Regions from separate parts of the Homo sapiens genome. Here regions 2 and 3 are each linked to region 1. Evidence: promoter capture Hi-C in human tissues and cell types (Jung and others, 2019). All regions are on one chromosome and are shown on one strand. The core of a region is centred on a gene start or on the middle of the fragment in contact, and the rest is flanking DNA. Distances in the headings are between cores, read along the strand shown. Region 1 holds the start of TFRC (transferrin receptor). Region 2 overlaps MUC20 (mucin 20, cell surface associated). Region 3 has its middle 26 kb from the start of SMCO1.

The links. Contacts are between HindIII fragments. The study calls those that stand out against the background at their distance.
Region 2: a fragment that was not itself captured here is called in contact with the fragment with the promoter of TFRC in region 1 in 1 of the 25 tissues and cell types used here (mesenchymal stem cells).
Region 3: a contact is called between a fragment that was not itself captured here and the fragment with the promoter of TFRC in region 1, in 1 of the 25 tissues and cell types used here (IMR-90 fibroblasts).

Annotation. Positions count from the first base shown.
Region 1 is chr3:196,079,980-196,083,767 of GRCh38, forward strand. TFRC (transferrin receptor) reads right to left here and starts at 2,111. Exons shown (of 19, transcript NM_001128148.3): 1 at 2,064-2,111. RefSeq lists an enhancer at 363-862 and silencers at 1,744-2,043, 2,094-2,433. The HindIII fragment of the contact is 11,516 bases long and covers 44-3,788 here.
Region 2 is chr3:195,727,005-195,731,017 of GRCh38, forward strand. It overlaps MUC20 (mucin 20, cell surface associated), which reads left to right. Exons shown (of 4, transcript NM_001282506.2): 3 at 2,644-2,735. Among named protein-coding and RNA genes, the nearest start is that of MUC20, 8.0 kb to the left of the region's middle. The HindIII fragment of the contact is 3,313 bases long and covers 855-4,013 here.
Region 3 is chr3:196,539,578-196,543,618 of GRCh38, forward strand. No RefSeq gene overlaps it. Among named protein-coding and RNA genes, the nearest start is that of SMCO1, 26 kb to the left of the region's middle. The HindIII fragment of the contact is 9,111 bases long and covers 1-4,041 here.

The sequences.
Region 1 (3,788 bases), core at 861-3,360:
TATTGTCTTTAACAGTACTGGGGCATGCCTGATGCATGAGATTCCAAATGATATGAAAAATATAATGAAAACATTGGACCAGGAATCTTTTCCCGTCCCCATCACTCTTCTGGTTTAGTAGGGAGTTTTTTTGTTGTTGTTTTTGAGATGGCATCTCGCTGTCGCGCAGGCTGGAGTGCAGTAGCACGATCTCAGCTCACTACAACCTCTGCCTCCCAGGTTAAAGCGACTCTCGAGCCTCAGCCTCCTGAGTGGCTGGGATTACAGGTGTGCACCACCATGCCCAGCTAATTTTTGTATTTTTCGTAGAGACGGGGTTTCACCATGTTGGCCAGGCTAGTCTCGAACTCCTCACCACAAGTGATCCACCTGCCTCGGCCTCCCAAAGTGCTGGAATTACAGACGTGAGCCACCATGCCCGGCTAATTTTTGTGTTTTTAGTAGAGACAGGATTTCACCATGTTAGTCAGACTGGACTCGAACTCCTGACCTTAGGTGATCCGCCTGCCTTGGCCTCCCAAAGTGCTGGGATTACAGGCGGGAGCCAATGCGCCCAGCCGAGGGTCATTTTTAACTAGCATTGTGATCGATTCAGGTTTAGCTGGGAATCTTGCTCCATGACATTTAAATACATTATCAGAGGCAAGTAACTGCCTCGCCTTAGGGCGGAGTTAGCCAAACTGCTGTCTATCTAACAATCTTCAACACAGGCTAGGTTTACAGCCACCATTACTTGATAAGAACATCCAAAGGAAATTGAAGGATGCTATGCTATATATAACCTTGCAAAATCGATGACAAAAATTATCTTAACTCTGAGTTTTCTTGAGAAGCATATTGTAACCCAAAATTCAGGGCCGGGGGGCGGGGGGAACCAGCAGGGTCCACAAGTACTCTAGACAGCCTAACCTTAATTTTCACAGTAAGCTTAGCATATAAGCATGGGGTAGCCAAATACAATTTCCTACTTTAATCCTCTTATCAACGGGGAAGAAAATGGAAAAAGCTGCAGAATCCAGTCCCCCGGGTAAGTGAGGTCTCTACAAGCAGTAAGCAGAGGGAAAGCGTTATCCGAAAAGAGCCGAATCAGAATGTATTTTCTTACCCACCCTCCCAACCTTAAAAGAACTGTCCAGCAGAATGTGACACAATCGGCCTCTCCGGCGCCCATCAATCCAGCACAGCCCTCTGACCACACCGCTAATCTCCAAGTATCTTTCACAAATAAGTCACTCCTATGGCTCCCGTCTTGTAGTGAGAACTGCTAGCAATATTCTTAATGTGAACACCTGCGGCGTTCAGTCGGATTCTGCCTTGAGAAAACAGAATCCACACACAAGGCGAACAGGCAGAGCATGGCAAGATCAGGTTGTACCAGAGCCGAAGGGTAAGTTTACAGAAACCCGTATCTAATTAATGCCTGTAACACGCTAGTAACCGAATCGGGGACAGCTTTGTCCCTTTCCGCAGTGAGAACGGGGCCCGCCCGGAGCCCGGGGAACCGAAGGTTTAGGAGCCCAAGGTCACCCACGAATCCCAGCCGTTCCCTGGGGCGACTTCCTGGAGCAGCCACGTGTTCCCCCGGCGCCGCACGCCGCGCAGCTGCACCTTGGCTGCGCCCGCGCTCCCGGACCCGCAGCCCGGAGCCGGCGCACTAGGGCCTGCGGCCTTCAAGGGCGAGGACCCGAAGTCCCCGGGGCTGAGAGCGACAGTGGGGGTACACCTGGTCTCGTCATTCGTCGCTCTGTGACCGAGGAGGCGGGCAAGAAGGCAGAGAGAAGGGAAGGGACGAGAGGCGAAGGGACGAGAGGCGCAGGGACGCCTCTGCGCACAGCCGCCGACCCCGTGTACCTGCAGCCGCTCGAGGCGCCGCCACAGCCCCTTCCCCACAGGCTCGCGGCCCCGCTCCATCCCGGCCGCCCCGCCTGGGGCCGCGACCGCTTTCCCGCTCCCCGTGCGGCTCCCTATGGCTGCTGGACAGCACCGGAGCGGCCGCTCCAGCCAGCCCCGCAGGATGAAGGGAGGACACGAGGGTCGGTGTAGTTCTAGAAGCCCGCACTCACACTAGCGCGTCCTCCGTCCCGAGCCGCCACCCGATATCCCGACGCTCTGAGGGGATGGCGGCCCCTAACCGGCGGTTTATAGCCTGGCCCCGCCCCCGGCCCCCAGGGGGGCTGTGCGTCACTTCCTGAGGCACGTACGCTCGCGAGGTGCTCTGACAGATCGCCCGGGGGGCGGGGATGCGCGCGCAGCGGGCGGGGCCCTATGCGGAGGGCGCTGCGGGCGAGGCGAAGGCCAAGGGAAAAGGCGCCAAGGCAGCAGGTGCCCCGAGGAGCCGCGCGATGGGCGCACTGGCCTCTGCCTCGGCGCCTTCCTCCACCCTGGTAGCCTGGCAGCCTCCGCCTGACCTTGACCAACCTCCAGTCCCTGCAGTGCTAGGTCCAATCTGTTGGCGTTGACGCTTAAATGTTGGATATTGCACTGCGGCAGTGCCTTGAAATGTACGTGCAGGATGGAATGTTAGGTAACTATTAAAGCCACTCTTGTGAAGATGTATTTTGCAGCCTCAGAAATACAAAAAGGAAAAGAAAAGCAAAATGCAAATTTTTATTCAGAATGTATACAAGCTGCACTTTAACCAAGACTAGCGGAGTGCTTTGCGTAATGTTTAATGCATGAGGGAATAAAAGGGAAAATAGAAACAAGTGACTTAATAGGGTGATAGGATTGTAGATTAACTTTCGTTTTCATTGCCATCGCTGTTATTGGATTGTGCAATGAATAACAAATAAATAAAATTCAATTCTTGTCACTGTTTAAACTCTTTCCAAACAATCACACCCTCTCCCTCCCTCTGGTCAGTAACCAGCAGGCCAGGGAGGTAGTAGCTACAATGCAAGAAAGCAACCCATACCTTAAAAAGCATTGCACATAAACTGACCTTCAGGCCCGTAGGGACACAGAACAGCCCTTTAAGAAGCAAATCCGTTTCTGGGCCTTGGGCTTTTACTCTTCCCTTTATTTCTTCTGCTCTAAGATAGAGAAAGTACTTGGGATTCTCACCGCCTTTCTCTTTACTCCCATTCTCTAAAATCTCTCTCCCCAAAGAGAAGTGTTTAAAAGTCATATGAGTTGCCAGGCGCGGTGGCTCACGCCTGCAATCCTAACACTTTGGGAGGCCGAGGTGAGCGGATCACGAGGTCTGGAGTTCGAGACCAGCCTGACCAATATGGTGAAACCCCATCTCTACTAAAAAAATTTCAAAAAAAATTAGCCAGGCATAGTGGCACGCGCCTGTAATCCCAGCTACTCAGGAGGCTGAGGCAGAAGAATCGCTTGAACCCAAGAGGCGGAGGTTGCAGTGAGCCAAGATCGCGCCATTGCACTCCAACCTGGGCGACAGAGCAAGATTCCATCTCAAAAAAAAAAAAAAGTCATATGAGCAGGAGCATTGCTGCACCTTTAATGATCTAATCAGGAAAAGGTTAAGGATGCACATCCACAGAGGGCCTACCTTAACATTCAGACACCAGGCCTGCTCCCCTGTGGTGTTCCTTCTTTATTTCTTTAATTATTAATTTTATTTATTTTTATTATTTTTACTTTTAAGACAGTGTCTTGCTCTGTCACCCTGGCTGGAGTACAGTGGCATGATCTCGGGCTCACTGCAACCTCTGCCTCCGGATTCAAGCGATTCTCCTGCCTCAGCCTCCCAAGTAGCTGGGACTACAGGTGTGTGCCACCATGCCAGGCTAATTTTTGTATTTTGAGGAGTGACGGGATTTTAT
Region 2 (4,013 bases), core at 1,261-3,760, 350 kb before region 1:
ATCAGGCCCAAGCTGCTGCTCTCTGACAGGCTGGGACCCCATGAAAGTGGGGCCTGCTGGATGCATTTCCTGGGATTTATGCCATAGATAGTGACTTAAAATAAATTAATACAGGCCTGGAGCGGTGGCTTATGCCTGTAATCCCAGCACTTTGGGAGGCAGAGGCCGGCGGATCACCTGAGGTCAGGAGTTCGAGACCAGGCTGACCAACATGGTGAAACCCCATCTCTACTAAAAATATGAAAATTAGCTGGGCGCAGTGGTGGGCGCCTGTAATCCCAGCTACTTGGGAGACTGAGGCAGGAGAATCACTTGAACCCGGGAGGTGGAGGTTACAGTGAGCTGAGACGGAGTGAAACTCCGTCTCAAAAAAAAAAGGTAAGATAAAATAAGCAAATACAGCGAAGGCTTGGGAGTTTAAAGCTACATCTCTGAGGCAACAGGGACTTCTCAGGGGAGAAGTTCATTGTCAGAGGCTGCTTGGTCAGTCCAGCTTCTGGTCAGCCTGTAGCCTCCACCTCCACTTCCTGTCACTCTGCCCTTGGGCCTCATCTCTGTGTATCCGCAGCTTGTTACCACCTTTCTGGGGGAGGTGGGAATACAAATATTAATCACAACCACTCAATACATAAAGATATTATTGAATATCTTTCATGTTATAGGCAGGGGTGATATAAACATGTTTCACACCCAGTAAGCACTGGCCCCAGCAGAACGTTCTCTCCGGTGCCAGGCAGTGTGCCACCAGCTTTGCATATGTTATCTGATGCCAGGCAGTGTGCCACCGGCTTTGTATATGTTATCTGATGCCAGGCAGTGTGCCACCGGCTTTGCATATGTTATCTGATGCCAGGCAGTGTACCACCAGCTTTGCATATGTTATCTGATGCCAGGCAGTGTACCACCGGCTTTGCATATGTTATCTGATGCCAGGCAGTGTGCCACCAGCTTTGCATATGTTATGATGCCAGGCAGTGTGCCACCAGCTTTGCATATGTTATCTCCTCTATTTAACCTTCAAAACAGCCTTAGGAGGTGGGTAACACGACCCCATCTGACAGGGTTAAAGATGGTAGCTAAACTGCTCTGGAAAGTGAAGGGGTGGCCTGCCCCTCCACACCTGTGGGTATTTCTAGTCGGGTGGGATGAGAGACTGAGAAAAGAAATAAGGCACAGAGACAAAGTATAGAGAAACAACAGTGGGCCCAGGGGACCGTCGCTCAGCATACCAAGGACCTGCACCGGCACCAGTCTCTGAGTTTTCTCAGTTTTTATTGATTATTATTTTCATTATTTTAGCAAAAAGGAATGTAGTAGGAGAGCAGGGTGATAATAAGGAGAAGGTCAGCAAGAAACATGTGAGCAAAAGAATCTGTGTCATAATTAAGTTCAAGGGAAGATACTATGCCTGGATGTGCACGTAGGCCAGATTTATGTTTCTCTCCACCCAAACATCTCAGCAGAGTAAAGAATAATAAAGCAGCATTGCTGCAAACATGTCTCACCTCCCGCCACAGGGTGGTTTTTCTCCTGTCTCAGAATTGAACAAATGTACAATCGGGTTTTATACTGAGACATTCAGTTCCCAGGGGCAGGCAGGAGACAGTGGCCTTCCTCTATCTCAACTGCAAGAGGAGATCCTCTTTTACTAATCCACCTCAGCACAGACCCTTTACGGGTGTCAGCCTGGGGGACGGTCAGGTCTTTGTCATCCCACAAGGCCATATTTCAGACTATACATGGGGAGAAAGCTTGGACAATAACCTGCTTTCAAGGGCAGAGGTCCCTGCGGCTTTCCACAGTGCATTGTGCCCCTGGTTTATTGAGACTAGAGAATGGCGATGACTTCTACCAAGTATACTGCTTGTAAACATTTTGTTAACAAGGCACGTCCTGCACAGCCCTAGATCCCTTAAACCTTGATTTTATACAACACATGTTTTTATGAGCTCAAGGTTGGGGCAAAGTTACAAATTAACAACATCTCAGCAAAGCTTGTTTAAAGTACAGGTCTTTTTCAAAATGGAGTCTCATGTCTTTCCTTTCTACAGAGACACAGTGACAGTCTGATCGCTCCTTCTTTTCCCTGGAAAGAAAAATACTTTATTATTTGTTGATTAGATAAGACATTCATATGATTTGAAATGGAAAGGTACGAAAAGGTTCACCATAAAATGCCTTTCTCCCCTGGCTGTGCCCCCACCCAGTTCTCTCCACACATGTAACCCGTGAGATTGTCTCTTGTGTGTAATTTTCTGCACATGAAATGTACATACGGAAGCAAATATATGTGACTATTTCATCCTCCTCTTTTTTTTTTTTTTTTTTTTTGAGACAGTTTCGCTCTTGTTGCCCAGGTTGGAGTGTAGTGCTGCGATCTCAGATCACCACAACCTCCGCCTCCCAGGTTCAGGCGATTCTCCTGCCTCAGCCTCCTGAGTAGCTGGGATTACAGGCACGCACCACCATGCCCGGCTCATTTTGTGTTTTTAGTAAAGACGGGATTTCTCCATGTTGGTCAGGCTGGTCTCAAACTCCCGATCTCAGGTGATCCACCTGCCTCTGCCTCCCAAAGTGCTGGGATGACAGGTGTGAGCCACTGCGCCCAGCCCTGATTTTCATCTTACTGTTCTCCATTTGCAGGTGAAAATGGAGGTTTCCTCCTCCTGCGGCTGAGTGTGGCTTCCCCGGAAGACCTCACTGACCCCAGAGTGGCAGAAAGGCTGATGCAGCAGGTGAGTGGGCACTTTCCGGGCCAGGGGAGTAGAGGAAGGGGCGAGGTTCGCAGGGGCTGCAGGGAAGACCCGCAGGACACAGAAGAGCAGCTACCGCGCTTGGAAGGGAGTCTCGTTTCTTACGGAGAATTGGGAGCTGAATCTGAGGATCTCTGCCTGGCTTTGCTTCTGCCTGCCTTCTCCGAGTTCTTCATTTCCTTCTCTGCAATGTAAACATGTGACTCCTAGAGCCCCCAGTTTCTTCTGGTCCTTGGAAGCTTGGCCTTCTGGCCTCTGAGGCAAAGGTCAGTGATACTGATGGGAGGGTAGGTCGGACTCTTGGTTGCAAGTGGCAGAAACCCAAGTCAGGGCAGTTTATGCAAAAAAAAAAAAAAAAAAAAAAAGGCAAGGTCTGAGAAACCTACAAGTGTCTCTTCAGCTTCAGTACGGCTGGATCCAGCAGCTCCAGCGCCATCACAGGGACTTTCTCTTTCTTTCCCTGTCTTAGCTTTACTCCCTTCATTCTTCAGAGTCTTTCTTCATGTGTATGAAAAGGCAGCCTTGTTAGCCATAGATTCACAAGGGACTTCCATCTCCCCACATTTTCTTTTCTTTTTTCTTTTTCTTTCTTTCTTTTTGTTTTTTGAGACGAAGTCTCGCTCTGTCGCCCAGGCTGGAGTGCAGTGGTGCGATCTCAGCTCACTGCAAGCTCCGCCTCCTGGGTTCACGCCATTCTCCTGCCTCAGCCTCCCAAGTAGCTGGGACTACAGGCGCCCGCCACCACGCCCAACTAATTTTTATGTTTTTTTTTTTAGTAGAGACGGGGTTTCACCGTGTTAGCCAGAATAGTCTCAATCTCCTGACCTCGTGATCCACCCGTCTTGGCCTCCCAAAGTGCTGGGATTACAGACATGAGCCACCGCACCCGGCCCCCTCTCCCCAAATTTTCATGTCATCTGGGGAAGTGCAGGTCTCCATGGCCTGCAAGGGTCACCATGACTGACAACCCAGTCAGGATCCCATAGAGGAAGGATGAGCCCCAAGAAAATAGGGAGGCTAGGCAGAAAAAACCGCAGAGATGTATACTCTAGATGAGGACCATGATTGGGATGTATTTGTACAAGTTGGGAAAATTCTCCTAAAACCCACTGGATAGAACTTCCAATGGTAAAGTTCCGGGGTCAGGGTTTTGAGGATGGGGATGGTGTGGCTTGTTGGAGGTTAGACTGGGTCAGCTCAGTGCAGATGTCACGGGCCTGGCCTCACTGAGGGGTGGGTTGTTCTCCTAATGTGTGGTAC
Region 3 (4,041 bases), core at 1,542-4,041, 460 kb after region 1:
ATACTCTATGATATGTTATGGAAGATACATTCTTCCGTCACTTCTCCTACCACCGTGATGAATAGAGAACTGATGGTGGAACACTGGGGAAAGAGGTTATTGGCCCTTGTTTTGAGTGACTGTTAACTCTGGGGGGACTGTGTCTGCTGAGAAACCAGTCAAGGTGTTTCTGTTGAACACATGCCCAGTTCAAACTCTGGCTAGTCTCAAACTCCTGGGCTTAAGTCATCCTCCAGCCTCAGCCTCCTGAGTAGCTGGGACTACAGGCATGTGCCACCATGCCCAGCTTGTATTATTATTTCTTTTTTTTTGAGACGGAGTTTCACTCTTGTCACCCAGGCTGGAGTACAATGGCGTGGTCTCAGCTCATTGCAACCTTCGCCTCCCAGGTTCAAGCAATTCTCCTGCCTCAGCCTCCTGAGTAGCTGGGATTACAGGTGTGCACCACCACGCCTGGCTAATTTTTGTATTTTTAGTAGAGACAGGGTTTCATCATGTTGGCCAGGCTGGTCTCAAACTCCTGACCTCAGGTGATCCACCCACCTAGGCCTCCAAAAGTGCTGGGATTACAGGCGTGAGCAACCACACCCGGCCTGTATTACTATTTCTAACATCATAACTTCAAACGAGACAAAGAAAAGATGGAAAAAGTATTAATTTAAGTTGTGAAGCCTAATTTTAAAAATCCTTATTTTAGGCCGGGCATGGCGGCTCACATCTATAATCCCAGCACTTTTGGAGACCGAGGCGGGTGGATCATTTGAGGTCAGGAGTTCGAGATCAGCATGGTCAACATGATGAGACCGTCTCTAATAAAAATATGAAAATTTGGTGGCTCACACCTGTAATCCCAGCCCTTTGGGAGACCGAGGTGGGTGGATCACTTGAGGTCAGGAGTTCGAGACCAGCCTGGCCAACGTGCTGAAACCCCATCTCTACTAAAAATACAAAAAATTAGCCAGGCATGGTGGTGCGCGCCTGTAATCCCAGCTACTTGGAAGGCTGAGGCAGGAGAATCGCTTGAACCTGGGAGGTGGAGGTTACAGTGAGCTGAGATCGCACCATTGCACTCCAGCCTGGGCAACAAAAGTGAAACTCCATCTCGAAAAAAAAGAAAAAAGAAAAAGGCCGGGTGCGGTGGCTGATGCCTGTAATCCCAGCACTTTGGGAGGCCAAGGCGGGCGGATCATGAGGTCAGGAGATCAAGACCATCCTGGCTAACACGGTGAAACCCCGTCTCTACTAAAGATTCAAAAATTAGCTGGGCATGCTGGCGGGCGCCTGTAGTCCCAGCTACTCGGGAGGCTGAGGCAGAAGAATGGCGTGAACCCGGGAGGCAGAGCTTGCAGTAAACTGAGATCGCACCACTGCACTCCAGCCTGGGTGACAGAGTGAGACTCTGTCTCAAAAAAAAAAAAAAAAAAAAACCACACACACAACAAAAATTAGCCAGGCTGGTGGTGCGCACCTGTAATCCCAGCTACTTGGGAAGCTGAGGCAGGAGAATGGCTTGAACCTGGGAGATGGAGGTTGCAGTGAGCCGAGATAGCACCACTGCACTGGGTGACAGAGCGAGATTCTGTTTCCAAAAAAAAAAAAAAATCCTTATTTTAAGTGAAAAATTAGTAGAATTAAAGTAAATCAAGACAATATAAACATTAATGGTGGTGAAAGCTTGAAGCTCTAGTACAAGAGATTTGGGGTAGTAATAGGTCCAGAAAAAGCAGTAAGACACTTGTCTTGAAACTGCACTTTGTAGCAAGCAACCTTTAAAAAACTTAAGTTTTCAGCCCCGATTCAGTGGCTCACACTTATAATCCTAGCACTTTGGGAGGCTGAGCCCAGAGGATTGTTTGAGGCCAGGAGTTCAAGACCAGCCTGGGCAACATAGCAAGACCCCATCTCTAATTTTAAAAAATAAAAATAAATTAGTTTTGAGATATAACTTACATACAATAAAATTCAATAATTTAAAAAGTATGGCTTACTGAGCTCTGACAAATGTTTACAGTCATATAATGACTGCCACAATCATGATAAAGACCACAGAATATCCCCCATCACCCTGAAAACTTCCCTTGTACTTCTTTGCAGCCAATCCTATACCCTGCCTCTGACCCCTGGAAACCTCTGAGCTGCTTTCTGTTTTGCCTTTTCCAGAATGTCATATAAATAGAATCATATAGTATTTGGATATAAATGGAATCATTAGTATTTAGTCTGCTAGGCATATACTTGCTTCTTTCACATACCACAATGCTTTTGAGATTTGTCCATGTTCTTGCCTGTGTCCACAATCTGTTCCTTTTATTGCTCAATAGTATTCCATTGCACGGACACACTGTGAGTGGTTGAACAGTTGAGGGACATTTGTGTTATTTCCAATTTGGCTATTATGAACAAAGTAGCTATAAACATTTGGGTCAAGAATTTTGTGTGAACGTATTTTTTCATTTCCCTTTAAAATTTTTTTATTATTTCTTTTTCTTTTCTTAAAAATCCCAAATGTGATAGTATTTTATTTTTCTTGAGTAAATACCTAAAAATAGAATTGCTAGGTCATATTATAAGCATATGTTTAGCTTTAAAAGTGGCCCAACTGCTTTCCAAAGCGGCTGTACCATTTTGCATTCCTACTAACGATGTGTGAGAGTTCCCGTTGCTCCGCATTCCTGTCAACATTGTCAGTCTTTATAAGTGTAGCCATTCTAGTGGGTGTATACAGGTGTTACATTGTAGTTTTAATTTGCATTTACCTAATGACTATTCATGTCATGCACCTTTTCATGTACTTATTGGCCATTTATATATCCATATTGGTGAGGTGTCCAAATCTTTTTTTTTTTTAATTATACTTAAAGTTTTAGGGTACATGTGCACATTGTGCAGGTTAGTTACATATGTATACATGTGCCATGCTGGTGCACTGCACCCACTAACTCGTCATCTAGCATTAGGTATATCTCCCAATGCTAGAGGTATCCAAATCTTTTGCCCATTTTTTTTTTTTTAATTTTTATTTTTATTGATCATTCTTGGGTGTTTCTCACAGAGGGGGATTTGGCAGGGTCATGGGACAATAGTGGAGGGAAGGTCAGCAGATAAACAAGTGAACAAAGGTCTCTGATTTTCCTAGGCAGAGGACCCTGCGGCCTTCCGCAGTGTTTGTGTCCCTGGGTACTTGAGATTAGGGAGTGGTGATGACTCTCAACGAGCATGCTGCCTTCAAGCATCTGTTTAACAAAGCACATCTTGCACCGCCCTTAATCTATTTAACCCTGAGTGGATACAGCACATGTTTCAGAGAGCACAGGGTTGGGGGTAAGGTCACAGATCAACAGGATCCCAAGGCAGAAGAATTTTTCTTAGTAAAGAACAAAATGAAAAGTCTCCCATGTCTACTTCTTTCCACACAGACACGGCAACCATCCAATTTCTCAATCTTTTCCCCACCTTTCCCCGCTTTCTATTCCACAAAACCGCCATTGTCATCATGGCCCGTTCTCAATGAGCTGTTGGGTACACCTCCCAGACGGGGTGGTGGCCGGGCAGAGGGGCTCCTCACTTCCCAGTAGGGGCGGCCGGGCAGAGGCGCCCCTCACGTCCCGGACGGGGCGGCTGGCCGGGCAGGGGGCTGACCCCCACCTCCCTCCCGGACGGGGCAGCTGCCGGGCGGAGACGCTCCTCACTTCCCAGACGGGGTGGCTGCCGGGCGGAGGGTCTCCTCCCTTCTCAGATGGGGCGGCTGGGCAGAGACGCTCCTCACCTCCCAGACGGCGTCGCGGCCGGGAAGAGGCGCTCCTCACATCCCAGACGGGGCGGCGGGGCGGAGGCGCTCCCCACATCTCAGACGATGGGCGGCCGGGCAGAGACGCTCCTCACTTCCTAGATGGGATGGCGGCCGGGAAGAGACGCTCCTCACTTTCCAGACTGGGCAGCCAGGCAGAGGGGCTCCTCACATCCCAGACGATGGGCGGCCAGGCAGAGACGCTCCTCACTTCCCAGACGGGGTGGCGGCCGGGCAGAGGCTGCACTCTGGAC